Regions from separate parts of the Homo sapiens genome. Here all the other regions are linked to region 1. Evidence: promoter capture Hi-C in human tissues and cell types (Jung and others, 2019). All regions are on one chromosome and are shown on one strand. The core of a region is centred on a gene start or on the middle of the fragment in contact, and the rest is flanking DNA. Distances in the headings are between cores, read along the strand shown.

Evidence for each region. Contacts are between HindIII fragments. The study calls those that stand out against the background at their distance.
Region 2: a contact is called between a fragment that was not itself captured here and the fragment with the promoter of POLR2E in region 1, in 1 of the 25 tissues and cell types used here (spleen).
Region 3: a contact is called between the fragment with the promoter of FSTL3 here and the fragment with the promoter of POLR2E in region 1, in 2 of the 25 tissues and cell types used here (dorsolateral prefrontal cortex and lymphoblastoid cells).

The regions. Positions count from the first base shown.
Region 1 is chr19:1,094,125-1,097,420 of GRCh38, reverse strand. POLR2E (RNA polymerase II, I and III subunit E) reads left to right here and starts at 2,046. Exons shown (of 8, transcript NM_002695.5): 1 at 2,046-2,162. The coding sequence starts at 2,106. RefSeq lists enhancers at 2,013-2,102, 2,860-3,296. The HindIII fragment of the contact is 36,385 bases long and covers 1-3,296 here.
Region 2 is chr19:1,411,985-1,414,859 of GRCh38, reverse strand. All of the region lies in intron 1 of DAZAP1 (DAZ associated protein 1), which reads right to left. Among named protein-coding and RNA genes, the nearest start is that of DAZAP1, 5.8 kb to the right of the region's middle. The HindIII fragment of the contact is 3,172 bases long and covers 1-2,875 here.
Region 3 is chr19:674,575-677,644 of GRCh38, reverse strand. FSTL3 (follistatin like 3) reads right to left here and starts at 1,253. Exons shown (of 5, transcript NM_005860.3): 1 at 1,119-1,253. The coding sequence starts at 1,221. The HindIII fragment of the contact is 14,894 bases long and covers 1-3,070 here.

The DNA of each region.
Region 1 (3,296 bases), core at 797-3,296:
GGTAGTTAGATAAGAAAGCCTGCACAGACCGGGCGGGGTGGCTCACACCTGTAATCCCAGCACTTTGGGAGGCCGAGGCGGGCGGATCATGAGGGCAGGAGATGGAGACCATCCTGGCTAACACGGTGAAACCCCGTCTCTACTAAAAATACAAAAAATTAGCCGGGCGTGGTGGCAGGTGCCTGTAGTCCCAGCTACTCGGGAGGCTGAGGCAGAAGAATGGCGTGAACCCGGGAGGTGGAGCTTGCAGTGAGCCGAGATCCTGCCACTGCACTCCAGCCTGGGGGACAGAGCGAGATTCCGTGTCAGGAAAAAAAAAAAAAGTAGCCCCTGACAGCCCCCCAAAAAGAATCTCAAATATCAGTGTAAAAAAGTCCGTGACTTACAACTAAAAATTACAAAACTACAACAAAGGGATCCTCCCCTCTCAGCTTCCCAAAGTGCTGGGATTACAGGTGTGAGCTATCGCGCCCAATGGGATTTTTTTTTTTTTTTCTCGATGGAGTCTTGCTCTGTCACCCAGGCTGGAGTGCAGTGGTGCGATCTCGGCTCACTGCAACCTCCGCCTCCCGGGTTCAAGTGATTCTCCTGCCTCAGCCTCCCGAGTAACTGGGAGTACAGGCACCCACCACCAAACCTGGCTAATTTTTGTATTTTTAGTAGAGACAGGGTTTCACCATGTTGGCCAAGCTGGTCTGGAACTCCTGATCTCATGCTCTGCCTGCCTCGGCCACCCAAAGTGCTGGGATTACAGTGATGAGCCACCACTGCTAATGGGATTTTTGCTTGAATCTATCCTCACTGTATTCCCTGACCTCCCCATGTGATACTGCAGTTCTCCCATTCTCCCCATGTCACTTAGCCTCCCTGCTCTTTCTTCTTCCGTAGCTTTGTCACTTTCTAACGTTGTTATTTATTTTATTTTATTTCATTTCATTTTATTTTTGAGACAGAGTCTTGCTCTGTTGTCCAGGCTGGAGTGCAGTGGCACGATCTTGGCTCACTGAAACCTCCACCTTACAGGTTCACGAGATTCTCCTGCCTTAGCCTCCTAAGTAGCTGAGACTACAGGCACCTGCCACCTGGCCCAGCTAATTTTTTGTATTTTTAGTAGAGACGGGGTTTCACCGTGTTAGCCAGGATGGTCTTGAACTCCTGATCTCATGCTCTGCCCGCCTCAGCCTCCCAAAGTGCTGGGATTATAGGCATGAGCCACCGCGCCCGGCCACGTTATTTATTATATTTTACTAAATCCTGTCTTTATCTGAATGCAAGGGATACTTGGCCTGTTTTATTCACCATCACTGTAGGTTGCTGAGTAAATGTTGAATTAACGAATGCATCACTGAATAAGTTACTGATAGCCTGCACACAGGAAGTGTTGGGCTGGGGTTCTCCGTGAACCTGGGGAAGTGAGGAGGTTTGCAAAGACAGGAAGAGTCTGGGGTGGGGAGATACCCAGGCTAGGCTGGGGAGATACCCAGGCTAGGCTGGTGGCGCTCAGGGGAGAGGACAGAGGTGAGGGGACTTAATAAGCACCTAGAGAGATGCCTAAGACTCTCAGTTAACCGTCTAAAGTAGGGACACTTTATTGCCATTGCACAGGTAGGGAAACTGAGGCCCAAGGGAATTAACCCTGACCTGGCCAGGAGCCAATGGAGGAAACCCTGTACAGTTTGATGCACAAATATTTATAGAGTTCCCACTAGGCTCCCAGACCATCCCTAGGAGCCGAGCTGCCCCTTGACCCCATCCAGGCCTCAGTTTCCCCGCTCACACTTCGCCCCCGCCTCGTGGGATTCTAAACTGTTGCTCCAAGGTGGGAGTTGAACGGAAACTACAACTCCCGAGAGGCTGTGCGGCCAAAGACACACGAGAACTACGGAGGCGAGAGACTCGCTCAGCCAACTGCCGCTCTCGTAAGGCTCGGGCTGCCCTTGGCGCTGCCGATCCGAGACGTTGCTGCATTCAGGCATTCGCCGACGACAGACCAGCGCGGGGCGGGGTTAGGCGGAGGGGGCCTGATTCGGATTCGGCGCAGGCGCAGTCCGCGCGGGTTCTCGCGCGGAGAAGGGGTGCGAGCGGCGGCGGCGGCGGAGGCTGCCATGGACGACGAGGAGGAGACGTACCGGCTCTGGAAAATCCGCAAGACCATCATGCAGGTGAGCCGCGCCTGGTGTTGGGGGCGGGGGCGCGGGCGGCGGGTGTAGGGGCCCGAGGTGGGGTCGAGCACGGCGTCTCCTCGTACTCTCGTCGGAGCAGCAGCGATGAAGGGCCGGGCCGATACGGGAGGCCCAGAGGTCGCCGGGGATACCAGGCGCTGGACCCGACCTGAGCCGGCAGCGGGGAAGGGAGGGGGTTTCGAGACGTCTGGGTGCGGTGCTTAGGGGTGGGTGGGCGGCTTGGGCTGGTGCGGCGCGCGTGGCGGCGAGAGGAGGAGGAAGCCGCGAATGGGGACGGGGGGCGCCCCCAGACTCTGCCCTTCTCTGTGATTCAGCGTCGCTATTTGTCCTTGCGTCCTGAACCCCATGGAGTCTTCAGCATCCGAGGCTGGCAGAGTTGGTGGTTGGGAAGCAGCGGGCGAGCTGGGGCTTTCGATGGGGACGTGGAGCTCGGAACCCGTGCCTTGGGGTCTGGGGCAGATGGAGGCCACTGGGTCGAGTCCGGTTTGGAAGCCGGGCACAGGCCTGAGGACCTGCGGTTCAGGGTATTGCCTCAGCCATTGGGGCCGTTTGAGAGCTTTTGCTTTGTCTTGCTTCCCACCCTTTGCCCTTGTCCTCAGCGAAGCCCCCCGCAGCCTGATTCTTCTTTCTCCGATCCTCAAACATTGTCAGCCTGAAGTCACATCTGTTTCGGTCCCTGTCATTTTTTTTTTTTAAGAGATAGGGTTTCATTCTGTCGCCCAGGCTGCAGTGCAGTGGTGCAATCATAGCTCACTGCATCCTTGAACTGGCCTCCAGCAACCCTCCTGCCTCAGCCTCCCTAAGTACTGGGATCACGGGCGTGAGCCTCCGCGCCCCGCCTTTGTCCCTGCCTTTAGGGTAGCTCTGCAAAGTGGTTTGGAGGGCTTTGCTCCCTGCCAGGTTTCTGTGAGGCTGGGTGGACAGACGGTCTTGGTCAAGGCTGGACATCTCTGGGAGCCTCTCAGGATCATACTGGTCCCATCCTGTGGTGTGAGGCTGTGGGGGCCGGGGTGGCTGTCATGGAGCACACAGTGAGTGTTCATCCCGTTTGCTGTTCACCTCTGTCCTCTGCAGCAGCCGCAGGTCTGACTTCCGGGTCACGAGCTTTGGCCG
Region 2 (2,875 bases), core at 132-2,631, 320 kb before region 1:
AGAGATCTCATCTCTTAAATAAAATTAAAAAAAAAATAAAAAATACTCTTAAATAAAATTAAAAAAATAAAAAATACTCAAATACAATTTTAAAAAATAATAAATACTTTCTCAATTTTTTTTTGAAAAATTGTCTCGCTGTGTTGCCCAGGCTGGAGTGTAGTGGCGCGATCTCAGCTCACTGCAACCTCCGCCTCCCGGGTTCAAGCGATTCTCCTGCCTCAGCCTCCCGAGTAGCTGGGACTACAGGCGCCCGCCAGCTAATTTTTGTATTTTTAGTAGAGACGGGGTTTCACCATATTGGCCAGGATGGTCTCAATCTCTTGACCTCGTGATCCACCAGCCTCGGCCTCTCAAAGTGCTGGGATGACAGGCGTGAGTAGCTGCGCCCGGCCACTTTCTCAATTTTGATCACTGTGCTGTGTTCATGTGAGAGAATGTCATTGTTCTTGGGAAACAATAGATATCTCAGTGTACACATAAAGGGGACTGCATCGGTCTCCAGCTACTCTCAAATATTTCAGTAGAAACACACACAGTGGGGATGGGTGCACTGGCTCACGCCTGTAATCCCAGCACTTTGCAAGGCTGAGGTGGGCGGATCACCTGAGGTCAGGAGTTCGAGACCAGCCTGGCCAACATGGCAAAACCCCATCTCTACTAAAAATACAAAAATTAGCTGGGCTCGGTGGTGCGCACCTGTAATCCTAGCCACTCGGGAGGCTGAGCTCGAGGTGTACTGCTTGAACCCGGGAGGCGGAGGTTGCACTGAGCCAAGATCAAGCCACTGCACTCCAGCCTGGGCGACAGAGTGAGGGTCCATCTAAACACACACACACACACACACACACACACACACACACACACACAGTTCACTGGGGGTGGGGCAAGAGGCACCACGTGCCAAAGGGTAAAATGTCAGCCAATGGTGAGTCTGGCAGGGCCAAGAGGATATGGGAATTTTTGTAATTTTCCTGTAAGTCAGAAGTTATATATACAATTATGGTATAAAAGACTTTCATTACTGAGAACAAGACAGAATTTCAGTTTCTTTTGAAACAAGTCTCAGTCCTTATGGAATCTGAGACAGCAACAGATAGCTTTCGTTTCACATAGCTGTGTCTGGAGCTCCCCACCGCAGGTGACCCGCCCGCCTCGGCCTCCCAAAGTGCTAGGATGACAGGCGTGAGGCACCGCGCGCGGCCACACTGTGTGTTTCTGTTGAGATATTTGAGAGCAGCTTCTAACGCTAAAGCTTCCTGTGTCCATGTGTCTTTTACTACCACTCAGGAGCCACCGGCGAACACCTTCTCCCTGGTCTACAGACAGAAGCCTCCGGGAAGTCCCGGAAAGCAGGGTCATCTCTTCAGTGGCAGGGACTGCCTCCAGGGCCCTGGCACAAAGTCCCTACTTCTGAATCTCAGGATGTTTTAATCAATAAAATAAGAAAGCTCCTGGCTGCCAACCTCACCAGGTCGTGAGTGAGAAGCCGGCACATCAGAAACATGCGGAGCCCTGGGCAGGCACCTCCCAGACACTGTCCATCAACTGCCCAGGCAGCAGAACCAACTCTCACACAAGTAAACGTCGGAGTCCAGGAAGCCGGGCGCGGGCAGAGGCCAAAAGGAGGAGCTGCTGGCTCTCGTGGGCTTGCTACGGGGCTGGCGGTCCGCTTGTCCTCAGCTCCAGGCTTGCTCAGCCTGCACCTTGGCTGGCGGCGTGTGGACTGAGGACGTTAACGGGGCAAGGCAACACTGGCCTACGCAGATGAAGGGGTCGGTGAGCAATGTGGCTCCTGCACCCTGCCTCTGAGGGGCCCGCTGGGTGGGAGAGTCATCACCCAGCTGACGGCATCTCCGACACTGGAAGTCGTGGCTCCTACAGACCTCACACCCCACAAACCCAAAAGGGGTGTTCTCATTAGTGGGGGAGGCGTGGGACGAGCTCCACTTCTTCCCTTGCAACCTGGAGTCCAGCGTGCAGTCTGCCCATCAAAGGTCATGATGAACATCTCCCAGGATCTGCAAGCCTGGCACCCAGGGCCTGCAGCTCGACACCTGGCAGGTGCTCAATCCACGGTGGCCGGCGCAGCCACCCTCTTCTGCCTGTTAAAGCAAAAGCCGTTTTGGATGGCAACCTCGCTTGCTGCGTGCCATTCGGGTGCCTGTGCGGTATTTATGCGTAAAGTCCATCTGCAGAGGCTTCCTCTGGCCTAGGCTGACCACAAAGAGCCCTGACCTCCTGGCAGCACCAGAGTGGGCTTCAAAAACCGGCGGCCAGCCCGGCCATTCGGGGCCAGCAGCCTCAATGGGGGCAGTTGGCAGGCGACCTTTCCCTTCCTGCTGGGCCGGGGGACCAAGCCAGGAGGAGCCTGCCTCCCCACAGACCCCACCTGGCTCTGGGCTCCGCCAGTCACACTCAGCTCCGTGCACAATCTCAAGAGGCAGAAGTCCAGGCCCAGTGGCGGCTGATGTGTGGGGAACCCTTCTCTTCTTCCAGAGCATCAGGAAGAGCCTCTAGGGACTTTCCTGCCCCTAAGACCAGGTGGGAAACCAGGACCACTTCACCCACTGCCTCAGGCCAGTGAGCCCAGCCCGCCCCTCCATAGCCTGGACTCCCTCTCCCCAGCAGGGTCAGATGCCCCCCCTCCAGCCCACGCCTGCAGGGTGTGGGGTCCACAGAACACAGGAGCGGTCCGTGAACTGGAACGCGCTGCTGTGTGCTGAAGGAGCCCCTGAATGCCCACATCCTGGGTGCTAACTGTGGTCACCCTCATCCTCTCCCTGCCAGCCCCGCCCTCCCAGGCGGACCAGTGTTCTCCTTGGCAACGCCTGGAGCCAAGCTGGAAGCTCAGCCTATAAGCATCTGTCGAATG
Region 3 (3,070 bases), core at 4-2,503, 420 kb after region 1:
TGTCCCCACCCTGGCTCCAGAACCCTGGAAATGTCTCCTCCCCTCTGAGCTCCACGTGCCCCCCCCCACAGCCTCACCACCAACCCCCACCCACCCCAGGAGGTCCCTTCCCGTACCCTCCAAGCCCCCAGGCCAGGGGCTGGCACCCTGCCCAACCCCTCAAACACCACCAAACACCAGGCACTGGGCATGTCAGGGTCAGCAGGCCCTGGAGCCGCTTCTCCCGCCTCTGCCCTCTGTCTAGACAGCACCCGAGGGCGAGGGCACGCGGAGCCCCGCGCCTGGCAGCCCCCCCACCGCCTGGCCCGCCTCTTACTCACTCCAACTTGGGAACATTCCCCTTGCATGAGCTCACTGTCTCCCCAGGGACGTGGCCTTCGGGGAGGGGGCTCTGCTCTCCCTTTGGCGCAGGGCTGGGGTGGGGTGGGGCTGCAGGGATGGGGGGTGGGGAGCCAGAGAGCCCCCCATTTCTTCCCCCGTCCCTGGGGGCAGGAACGGCCACAGCCCCCATCCCAGAGCGCTTGCTGGTTCACAGACACTGCCAGGGACCAGCTTGTGGAACGCAGCACCTTGGCACCCATCATAGGAGGGGAAACTGAGGCCAGGAGTGGGGCCGTCTCCTGCCTGGCACCTCCCGGCAAGTCCCAGGTGTGAGACTCCATGCCCCGTCTACCCAGGACCCGGGAAAGCTCTCAGCCCCAGCTGGAGGGCCTGGCTCCCGACACCCAGCACTACCTCTCGGCACCAGGACCGACCCGGACGGTCGCGGCTAGAACCCTGGCTTTGCCTGCTACAGGCTGTGTGACCCTGAGCCTCAGTTTCCCCATCTGGAAGACGGAGATGAAGAGAGCTCCGGCACTATCGGGATGGCACAGGTTCAGGGAGGGGAGAGGTAGACACTAAGCGCTCAATAAATGTCAGCGGTCATTGTGATTAGAAACCTCTGCTCTGCTGACCTCTTGGTGACCCTCCTTCAGACCTTCCCGGCTCCAGCTTGCGCCGGACACCGCCCTCGCCCCCGCCGCCGCCGCCGCGCCCCCCGACGTCCCCCCGGCCGCATTCCGCGCAGCCCCACGTGGGTGGCCCGCCCCGCCCGCCCCTCTGGCCGCCCCACTCACCGGGCGCGGGGTTCCCCGAGCCCATGGAGCTCACGAAGCCCACGGCCCAAGCCAGGGCCCCCCAGGGCAGAGGCCAGAGTGGCCCTGGCGCCCCGGGACGCATGGCGAACGCAGAGACGGCAGCGGCACCGACTTCCCAGCGCGCGGCCGGCGCTCCCTATAAAGGTCCCGCGGGCCGCGGGCGGGGCGGGGCGCGGGGCGGGGCGCGGCGCGGGAGTGGCGGGGGCGAGGCCGTGTCCCGCGCGGGGTGGGCAGGCGCCGGGCCCGGCCGCTGCGGGGGGCAGTTGGGGGCGAGCGCCCGGGTCCCCTTCCGGAGCCAGAGAATGCATTTGGGGAGATGTGGCTGGACCCAGGGCGGAACCGGGACAGGGGTGTGGGTTCGAGGTGGTGGCAGCCTTTTGGGTGGATCGAGGGGCCGTCTCCAGGAATTAAAGTGGGTTTGGGGGTCTTCAGTTTCAGGGGTGGCGGTGAGGTAACGGGGACCCAAGAGGAGCACGTCTGTGGATCCCTGCATCCCGTTTCTGTGATTTGCATGTGGTCACTTTCATGGTCCAAGTGTGGTCTGAGCCCCCCAACCCGGCCTCCTTGTTCCCGACCCGCCCCACACACCCAAAACCTCAGCTGGATATGGTTCCCTGCTCACAGCGCGGGCCGCGCACCCGTCCACCTGGCCGCTGGAGCCGGCCTGTGGGTGGGGAGTGGTTGGGTGTGGGACAGAACGGGGTGCGGCCGGGACAGACCCAGAGACACAGCTCCTTCCAGCATCTCGGACAACAGCAGGCCTCGCCCAGCCACGGCCCCCAGGGAGGCCACTGCGTGTGTGTGTGTGTGTGTGTGTGTGTGTGCGCGCGCACGCCTGGCCTTTGTCCTGGGCCCCTGGGCAGCTCTGCCCCATCAGCCCTCCAAGCCTTTGCAGACATTCCCCCAGATCACCTCAACAAGAATGTTTACTAGGTTTTTTCCTCTCCCTCCAAGATTCAGCAAACACTGTTTCCAGCAGAGGCGTTTCCAACAATGTATGACAGCGACATCTGCGTGGGCCTGGAGGCGCTGCGCCCGAGGGGGCTTTCGTGCAGCCAGACACATTTCCTACTCTGGAGCTGATTCTGTCATGGGGGCCTCCAGATTTGTCAGGCGCCCTTGGCGAGCGCAGGGGAGCCCCTCTGTTCCTGCTTCTAGGGCATCAGTGAACATCTCTTTTGGCCAGAGGGACCCTGCGGGGTGCTGGGGTGCCACGGTGACCAAGGCAGACCCCATCACACCCTCACCGAGCTCCTGGTTTGGACAACAAAATGCAGAGACAAATTAATCTATAACTTCAAGGAGTGGTAAATGCTTTCAGGAAAATACAGAAGGTTGAGGTGGTGGAGAGCGGTTGGGTGTCTGCTGGGCATGCCTGTGTCTGGCCACTCGCTGTGCCGGCATTGCCCACCCCGCAGGTGGAAACGGACGTGTCCAGCAGCCCCACGGCACAGCCCCTTCTCTGGCCTGAGTGAGATCTGTGCCCACAGAAGACACACCTGTACCCTTTCCTCCACCTTAGCTGCCCAGCCTGTGTCCCCCAGCAGCCAGTGGCCAGGGGCCAAGTTCTGCCTTAGTGGCACTGAGGGGGGACACCCCGCCGTCTTGACCTGGCCTTGGCCTCTGGCATTTCCCCCGGGAATCTCCCCGGCTTGGGGAGCAGGGCAGGGACGGGACCCTGTATTCTCACTGAGGGGGGACACCCCGCCGTCTCGACCTGGCCTTGGCCTCTGGCATTTCCCCCGGGAATCTCCCCGGCTTGGGGAGCAGGGCAGGGACGGGACCCTGTGTTCTCACTGAGGGGGGACACCCCGCCGTCTCGACCTGGCCTTGGCCTCTGGCATTTCCCCCGGGAATCTCCCCGGCTTGGGGAGTGGGGCAGGCACAGGACCCTGTGTTCTCACTGACGGGGGACACCCCGCCGTCTCGAC